Regions from separate parts of the Homo sapiens genome. Here region 2 is linked to region 1. Evidence: promoter capture Hi-C in human tissues and cell types (Jung and others, 2019). All regions are on one chromosome and are shown on one strand. Each heading gives the region's core, a stretch centred on a gene start or on the middle of the fragment in contact. The rest is flanking DNA. Distances are from core to core; before and after follow the strand shown.

Region 1 (4,675 bases), core at 1,462-3,961:
GGAATTGTGCAATCAGGTATACCAACTTCTTGTTAGCCTTAAGTTCCTTGCCAGAGTCTCAGTGTTCACCTGTCTTGTCCAGGAGTATTGTGGAACAGCACCATGTGCCAGTGGACAGAAGGGGTATGTGTAGAAGCTCCAGGGTAGAAAGTCAGCCCACATGCCCTGAGACTTTGAACTTAAGACAGATGCCGGTTGGGATTGGTTTAGGGTCAATAACTGCCTCAGCCCAAATTTCCTCCAGTTCTGGAAGAATCTGCTTCCTCTCCTTTGAAGAATTTGTTTTTCCATTGTTCATGGCATGTCAAATATTTCACATGTGACAAAGTGAAAAGGATCCTCACCTGCCCAATACAAGGTGAACATCTGGCTTTGACTAACTCATGTCAGTAGTTTAGGTGCATTCCTAGCATTCTATAAGGTAAAGTTAACCTCTAGTGGAAGGGACATGCAGCAAAAACGAAACTTTTCTCTCACCTTCCTGGATAATTGTCCCTCCTTCTGGTATACCTTAGCGTTTTGAAATGTTACAAAAGGCATAATGCAAGTCATGGCACTATACTGAGAAATCGTTTAATAAGTTAGTATTACTCATCTATTAATGATTAATGCTAGCGTTTGGAAACTCTTGTAAGCAGAGCTTTTCTAGGCTCTCAGGCTTGTTACACATCAGATTCCATGTTCACTACACATTCGTCCTCTTCAAAGAGTCCAGGCAGGGGAAGGCATTTGAGAGAACAGCCCGTAAGAGCCTGTGGAGTCTCCTACTTTCCATTGAAAATAACACTGCCCATGCTGCCCACTTAAGAGTCCGCGGAACCATGTGACCAACCTAAACGTGATCGCACCGCTAACCAATCGCAGAGGGCGGAAAGGCCAGTCCCAGTTCACACGCTCCGGACAGTGGCAACCAAAGGGCAGGGGCATTCGGAGACGTAAAAACCCCAGGCGCTGCCCGACAGGCTCCTTGACCACATGCTTTAAAGTTCGCTCTCACTTCAGGAGCACGTGACTGCAGGCCGGCAGGGCCCCTGAAGCCACCCGGCGACGGGAGCCAGGGACTCTGGAACGGGTGTTAAGGGCCTGGGCGGCTTTCAGTCCCAATTCCCTGCAGCTGGCAAGCAAGCCCCTCGGCGTCACATCTGAAGATCACTTCGGGGACGCGCTAGGATTCCGACTGAGTCCTCTCAGAAAGGCTTCCTGTCGCCTGTCCAGGAAAGTTACGAGGCCCCAAGTGGGAACGTGGCTGACGACCAGGCGGGGCCCCCAGGCCCCCGCGGCAGAGTCTGGGGACCCGACAGTAGTCACCGCCGCCCTTCCCAACAAGACAGGGCCACACGCTCGCTCTCGCGCTGCTCCTTTGAGCTATTGTGTAGAATGAAGGCTAATTACAGTCACTAGCCTAGGACTCAATTCCTCTCGAGGAAACGTCACCGGGAAGGAGGGTCAGCAAACTAACCTGATTAAGTCTCCCCTCCACTCCCCCTCCGCGTTCAGCTACACGGGAGACCCGAGCGGTTTCCAAACGCCGCCCGAGGCGGGGAAAAGGGAGAGGAGAAGCGCCCAGAGCAGAGTCCTGCGTAAAGCCCCGCCGCTCCCCTACCCCGCACGCCGGAGAGGCGGCCCCGCGCCGGGGGAGTCGCAGTCCGGGTGCCCTCGGCTCCGCGGAGCCTCCCGGCCGCCGCCCACCGAACGTGCGCCAGCTCGCGGCCGCCGGAAGACTCTGAAGCCCGGCCGGCCCCTGGCGCTCCGCGTCCCCGGAGGCGCTCACCTTCTCCCCCCGTCCGCTCCCGCACTCCCCGGGGTTCGAGGGTGCGCCCGAGGCTGCCGCACACGTCTTGGCCCTCTGCCTCCTTCCCAACACTGCGCCTGGCAGAGGAGGCAGAACCATTGTTCAATGCTCAGAAGCCCACGCACCTCGGCGCCCGTCAAGAGGGCGAGAAACGAGGCGAAGCAGCGGCTCTGGGGGAGGCGGAGTGAGGGGCAGAAGACTAGTTCAGGCGAGGCGTCGGGGCACCCCGAACCCCGCTGTTCCCCAAGCCCGGCTCCCTTTAGCCTCGGCGCTGACAGCTCAGAGGCGCCACCACGGAGGGGAGGGAGGGAAGGCGAGGAGAACCGAGAGGCGCCTCCTAGGAGGCGGGTGGGCAAACGGAGACCTACGCCTCGGGGTCTCCCGGTGCCCCGGCTGGGTCCCGCCCGCCGGCGGAGGGGCGCGTCCTCACTCACCGGTTCCGGTGGCGCCGCTCTCCCGGGGCGCCCAGCACAGCGCGAGCAGCAGCCAGAGCGCCCAGAGCGCGGACGTGCCCATGGTGCCCGCCTGGATGGTGCCGCCGCCGCCGCCGCCGCCGCCGTTCGCTCCGCACGACAAGTTACCAGTCCTTCCGAAAGGAGGAAGAAGGTGGGGGCGGGGAGGGGAAAGGGGGAGAAGGAGGGGAAGGAGTTGGCGGGGGAAGGGAGCGGGGAAGAAGAGGGCACCCCCTCCCCTACAACTTGCACAGTCTCCTCCCCACCCACCCAGCCACCTCCCCGGGCTGCAGCAGCAGTGCAAGCCGAGCCTGCGGGCAGAAAATAATGCAGGCGCTGCAGAGGAGGGGAGGCAAGGGGAGAGGAGGGAAGGGAGAGGGGGTGGGGAGCCGAGAGCAGAAGAGAGCACAGAACGGAGAGGAGCCGGTAGCGGAGCACCCGCACCGGCGGCGGCCGGAGAGCGGGGTGAGCAGCGGGGAGGGGGCCGGAGGGGGCGTGGTCAACGGGAGGCGCGGCGGGCGGGCGGGAGCGCGGCGGCTTCGGCCCTCCTTTCCCTCGACGCGCTCCTCTTGCACGCGCCGGGCAGCCGGGTGCCCGCGCGGGGAGCGTGCGAGTGTGAGCGTGCGTGAGTGACCGCGGTCGTGGTCGTGGCTGCCGCCGCCGCCACCCGGACCGCTCTAGGGGCCCGGCTGCTCCGCGCGTTCGCCTGGGGCTCACGGGGGCCCGGGGCGACCGCTGGTTGGCTCGCGCGCCGCCCTCGCCTCCAATCCCGGGTGCCTGTCCTAATTTCCTGATCCAGGGAACCTGCCGCCGCAGCGGCTGTGCGCTCCCTACAGTCATTACTGTACCCTCCCGGCAGCCTCCGGCAGAACACGCAGCAGCAGCAGCAGTTAGCGCTGATGCAACTATCGTTGCTGTTGCCACCGCCTCCCCACTGACGGGGCGTGCACCTGGGGGGTACTTGCAGTTTCCAGGGGCAACAAGCATCTCTCTACCACCCTCTCCTGCGCCCCTGAGAGAGGCTGGTAGGTAGCATCTTCTTCGGGCCTCCTCTATCCACTCAGAAAGTGATGAAGCGGAGGGGCTCCAAACGTTTGGGCTGCTCAAAAGTGGGGTTTGGGATGCCGGTCTCAATCGCACGCTGAGATGCCGTTTTGCCGAAAACTAAATGTGTCTTTAAGTGAGAGAGTGTGTATGTTTGAAAGAGAGTGCGCGCGGTTGTGGCTGGTCCTCTGTAATAGAACAAGACTGAAATAACCCAGCCTGGGATGAGGAGAAGGGAAATTGCTAGCGCAGCTTTGCATTTGCTCATCAACGATTATAGTTAATTGCTAATTGCACAAAATGATAGTTTGAGGGCCTGTAATTAAAAGCTTAACCTTTTCTTGTTTGGAAGAGAGGGGCCCCATACGTTTATTCCTCTTGATATACTTTGTAACATTCAATTACAAGAATCGAGGAAAGAATAAAGGAAGCAAAGACAAGACTCCTAGAAAGGGTTGGTTCTTCTTTTGTGCCTGACAGTACCTGAGTCTATAATTTGCTTTTTGTGTACTTCAGTTTTCTTGCACACTTAGCCCTGGTTGAGGTGCATTGTCTGCTGTGGTCTGTTGAGCATCTAACCAGAGTGGGAGGGCACATCGAGCGATTTCACTTTCTTAAATAAAAGGTTTTTGGTATTTTGAAAAAGTTGTTTTTATCTTAATTCAAACTTGGAAGGTTTCAATAATATCATATTCTGACTCTATTCTGTTGGTGATCTGAAGAGCAGCGGGCACTGCCTCACTGTCTTCTCCTTGCCCTGGTTCTCCTGGAAATTTGTCAAGGCTAGCAATCAGAGGAGATGTTTATTAGGAACTTACTATATCCAGGAGACACACAGGAGAGGAAAATTCCAGTCAGGATAGGTTTCTGTGGGCCAAAGATATCCTGATTGTGACTGCTAAGCATGAAAGGGCTTAACTCTACGTATGGATGGTATCTTGCACTATAGCTCATTTTGAATGCTATTTTGCCCACCCTGTGGTTACATAGTTGATACAAACTGCAGCAGCCACACAGGTTGCATGTGAAACAACTGAAATTTGTTTGTATGACATTTAGTAGTGAAGATGCATGCCGGTGTTATTCACCTAATGGCATTGAGATGTGATAGGAAAACCTTAGTGCATGATGTCTTTCATATTCTCAGGGTTCTGAAATGCCATCTGATGAGCTACTGCTTTACAGAAGAGGAAAGGAGTAGAAGGGATGGGTGGAATCAATACAAAAAGAGGCAGCATTAATAAACAGTCATATGACTTGTTTTTAATACTTTACTCAGAGATACAGGTATACTACAAGCTATACATTGATATGGTATAATAAGACTTAACTTTGAAAAACGTGTGTGAGTACTTTCTAATTCTCCAAGGGATATAAATAAACTTTC
Region 2 (4,797 bases), core at 1,727-4,226, 140 kb before region 1:
TCTGAGAAATAAACATTTGTTGTCTAAGCCATCTAGTCTATGGTAATTTGTTATAGCAGCCCCAGCTGAGTAGGACACCCACCTATCTGAAATTGCAACTCACACCCCTGCCCTATCATCTCAGCTCTGCTGATTCCCCTTACTGTGCTCTTGCTTGTTTTTAAACACTTATCTGTTTCTAATATACTAGGGTGTATTTATTTACTTATTAAGATTATTCATGTCTACCTCCCCCAACAAGATTTACCCAGCAAGAATCTTTTTGTTGTTCTCTAGCTCCTGAAAGAGTGTCAGGCATAAAATAGCCGTTGAATAAAATGTGTTGAATAAATGAATGCTGCCATTAACATTTTTATGTATTCCATCACACTAGTGATTTTATTTTTATGGGATAGAATGCCAAGAGTAAAACTATTGAGTCAAAGGACATGTATATTTAAATTTTAGTGGAAGTTCCAAGATTGCTTTCCAAATATTTTTTTAGCAAGTCATGGCCGGGCTCAGTGGCTTACTCATGTGATCCCAGCACTTTGGGAGGCTGAGGCAGGTAGATCATTTAAGCCCAGAAGTTCAAGACCAGCCTGAGCAACATAGGGAGACCCCATCTCTACAAAAAATACAAAAATTAGCCGGGCATGGTGGTACATGCCTGTAGTCCTAGCTACTCAAGAAGCTGAGAGGGGAGGATTGATTGAGCCTGGTAGGTGGAGGTTGCAGAGAGCTGGGAATGTGCCACTGTACCCCAGCCTGGGTGGCAGAATGAGGCTCTGCCAAAAAAAAAGAAAAAAAACAAAGTTCCTTTTTAAAAAATCATCAGTGTAAAACAGTGTCCTTTTCCCCCCACATCGCTGCCAGCAATGAATATTATAGCTCTCTTCAATTTTTTTCAGTCTGATAGATATAAAAGGATATCTTGTCCTTGACAAGGTATTACGTGTCCTTGACTTTGAGCATTTTCTCATATGTTTTGCTGGCAATTTGGAGGTGTTTATCTGTGAACTGTTTATTTGTATCCTTTTCCTATTTTTCTCTTGAGTTGTCCTTTTCTTTAAAAAGTGTAGGTTTTTTTGTTTATTTGAGATACTTATCTTTTACCTGATGAGCATTATAAATATATTTTTCCCAATATATCATTTGTTTATGATATATTATCTTTTATCATAAAAAGCTCATCTTCCCTCTTAGAGTTTTTAGATTTAAATTTTGATTGGGAAAGCCTTCCCTATCTCTGTTATACATGTAGTCATTCTGATTTTTTGTGTGTGAGTTTTTATTTCAATTTGTCATTATTTAGTCAACAAGTATTGACATTTAGGTATTTAATCTTCTAAAATTGGATGTTAGTGTGTGTATGAAGGTATACGTTACAGAGTTTAATTTTCTTCCATATTAATAGCCAATTGTGCAGGTACTAGTTATTCAAAAATCCATGATTTCCCCCATCGAACTGAACTATTAATTTTATGATATATTCTCACATAAACTAGGATCTATTTCTAGATTATCTGTTCAGTTCCACTAGTATGTTTATTGATTATCATACAAATATTTTTAATTTGATTTCAGAGCCACACCTTTTCCCCATTATTTTATATTTCCTAGTTGTCTTCCTTGACTATACTGAAGCAATTATTTTTCCACATCAAATTTATGACCGTTTTACCTAACTCTGGGAAACTTTTTGAGGTTAAACTTCCCTAATACTAGCAGCATGTATAGAGACATAGCAGCATGTATAGAGTGTAATGCAAAGATTACAGGTTAAATTCTTTTTATTTTTTTCAGAGTAATATTTTCTCGTTACAAAATAGAGATAATAATTCTTGCCCTGCTTATCTACCTAAGAGGGTTCATACCGTGTGGAGATTCTCCAATACATAATATGATAAATAATACAAACTCCATTTGTCCAGCAGAACTGTTTTGTTGTTGTTGTTTTTGTTTTGTTTTTTGAGACAGAGTCTCACTCTGTTGCCCAGGCTAGAGTACAGTGGCATGATCTTGGCTCTCTGCAGCCTCCGTCTCTCAGGTTCAAGCAGTTCTCCTGCCTCAGCCGCCCAAGTAGCTGGGATTATGGGCATGCGCCACCACGCCTGGCTAATTTTTGTATTTTTAGTAGAGACAGGTTTTCACCATATTGGCCAGGCTGGTCTCGAACTCCTGACCTTAAGTGATACGCCTGCCTCGGTCTCCTAAAATGCTGAGATTATAGGCCCGAGCCACAGTGCCCCGCCAGGACTGTTATTTTGCGTGTGTGTGAGAAAAGTAGTTAGGGCAAGGGAATAGACCTTTTCCATTATTTTATTAGGTGAGATACTTTGTTGCAAGTAATAGGAATGTAAGCATCAAATGCAATCATGTAGGAAGACACGTGTAAATTTATAATTCCTGGTATATAGTGCCTGTATGTACTGTAGTGGTATTGTGGGGGCCATAGGCTCTTGGCCTCCTAAAGGCTCGCTGAAAATCACTGACATAAAGCGGATTGATTAATAGGAGAAAAGGTATACAAATTTATTTAACATGTTGATATAGTTTGGATGTGTGTCGTTACCCAAATCTCATTGAAATGTAATCCCCAGTGTTGGAGGTGAGGCCTGGTGGGAAGTGATTGGATCATGGGGGCAGTTTTCTCATGAGTGGTTTAGTACTATCCCTCTTGGTACTGTCCTCGCAATAGAGAGTGTGTTCTCATGAGATCTGATCGTTTAAAAGTGTGTGGCACCTCCTCACTTGCTTTCTTGCTGCTGCTCTGGCCATGTGAAGTGCCTGCTGCTCCCTTTGCCTTCCACGGTGATTCTAAGTTTCCTGAGCAGAAGTTGAGCAGATACCAACATCCTGCTTCCTGTACAGTCTGCACAACCATGAGCCAATTAAACCTCTTTTTTTTATAAATTACCATGTCTCCAGTATTTATAGCAATGCAAGAATAGAGTAAGACATGTATATACACAGGAGGCTTCAAAATGAAAAGGCCAACTTCCCAGTGAGTAACAGAAACTTATATGCCATACTGAGGCCACAGTAAAGAATGCAGACTCAGAGCATGGCCAGAAACAGGTCAGTCAGGTTTAGTGGCAAGACATGTGAAGAGAGACAGAAAGGAAGAAGCTTGGCTAGCAAAGATGGCCTTGTTACATAGATGAAACCTTCCCCAAAGAAAATAGATGGTAAATGTTTATTTTAAGACTTTAAAAGGTGTCAGACTCTCAATCTTTCCTGGAGCGGGGAAGGTATAGAAAGGGGAGGGGGCGTGGTTACAGTAATGAAGGTTCTCTATAGATGCAAATTTTCCCCACTTAAGGCAGCTTTGCAAATCCACTTCTGTCAGAAGTGATAGGCCAAGTGATAGCCCTTTTAAAATACGTCACAGAAATAGGTTTTGGGATAAAATATTTTTTTTTATTTATTTTATTTATTTATTTATTTTGAGACAGCGTCTTGCTCTGTCGCCCAGGCTGGAGTGCAGTGGCGCAGTCTCGGCTCACTGCAACCTACGCCTCCCGGGTTCAAGTGATTCTCGTGCTTCAGCCTCCCTAGTAGCTGGGATTACAGGCATGCACCGTCATGCCCAGCTAATTTTTGTATTGTTGGTAGAGATGGGGTTTTACCATATTGGCCAGGCTTGTGTTGAACCCCTGACCTCAAGTGATCTGCCCAGCTTGCCCTCCCAAAGTGCTAGGATTACAGGCATGAGCCACCACGCCTGGCCTAGGATAAAATATTTTAATTTCCTTTTATTATATACCTGTGTTGGTATATAGAGCCAAGCCTTACTGCTGTGAGCATCATATGAGGCCCTGGTCATAGCTCCTGTCTGTGGCTACTGTGGAGTTTGCCACTTCCTGTTTCCATGATCTTAGATGAACCAAACTCTACAAGGGAAAATACTTTGTAAGTTACAAAACTGCCTGACAACCACTGATCAGAATTATTCTTGCTGTTTCCTGTGCCGCATTTCTCTCAAGCAGGAGAGAAGTCTGTAGTTCTCAATGGCTGTCACCCACGGCAAGGACAGCTTCTTTCTTTGTGGAGCAGAGACGTGTGACTCTGAGTCAGTGGCAGGCAATGTTATGCTGGTAATAAGAACTCTATAATGAAGCGGTCTGAGAATATGAGTGCATTGTCCTCCTTTCTTTTGTTTCTCTTTTTTTTTTTTTTTTTTTTTTTTGAGATGGAGTCTCACTCTGTCACTCAGGCTAGAGTGCAATAGTGCCCACTGCAACCTCCACCTCCTGGGTTCAAGTGATTCACCTCCCTCAGGCTTCCAAGTAGGTGGGATAACAGGCACCTGCCACCATGCCTGGCTAATTTTTGCATTTTTATAGAGTCAGGGTTTCACCATGTTGGCGAGGCTGGCCTCAAACCCCTGACCTCAGGTGATCCACCCATCTCAGCCTCCCAAAATGCTAGAATTACAGGCATGAGTCACCACGCCCAGCCTTGCCCTCCTTTCTTGATGAAGCCCCTGCTCATATCTATCTTTAGCTATAGTGTTCACAAAAAGATTATTAGATTATCGCAATCTCAAGTGTTATTTGTGCCTTGTTTAATAGACTTGAGCAAAAGTATTTCAAGGGCCTGTGCCAGGTGTTTTCTCTCTTTTTAATCCTTTTTCAGCTGGCAAGGATCATGCACATTTATTCTGGATTTGGCTGATTTTCCCGGGAATGTATGGTGAGATGTGAGTTTGCAACACCATTATTTTTTTTAAGGAACAATAAGGGCATATACACAGAAAGCACCCATCCACATATAATTTTGAATCCCAGGGTCCTTAGAGATATGCTAGTCAGC

Evidence for each region. The method cuts DNA at HindIII sites, captures the fragments that hold promoters and counts their contacts. A contact is called where the count stands out against the background at its distance.
Region 2: a contact is called between a fragment that was not itself captured here and the fragment with the promoter of VLDLR in region 1, in 2 of the 25 tissues and cell types used here (bladder and heart right ventricle).

Annotation. Positions count from the first base shown.
Region 1 is chr9:2,619,823-2,624,497 of GRCh38, reverse strand. VLDLR (very low density lipoprotein receptor) reads right to left here and starts at 2,711. Exons shown (of 19, transcript NM_003383.5): 1 at 2,227-2,711. The coding sequence starts at 2,308. VLDLR-AS1 (VLDLR antisense RNA 1) reads left to right here and starts at 2,125. Exons shown (of 4, transcript NR_015375.2): 1 at 2,125-2,398. RefSeq lists silencers at 1,577-1,666, 1,677-1,766, 2,037-2,306, 2,917-2,996 and an enhancer at 2,875-3,169. The HindIII fragment of the contact is 11,914 bases long and covers 1-4,675 here.
Region 2 is chr9:2,763,688-2,768,484 of GRCh38, reverse strand. No RefSeq gene overlaps it. Among named protein-coding and RNA genes, the nearest start is that of KCNV2, 49 kb to the right of the region's middle. The HindIII fragment of the contact is 8,925 bases long and covers 1-4,797 here.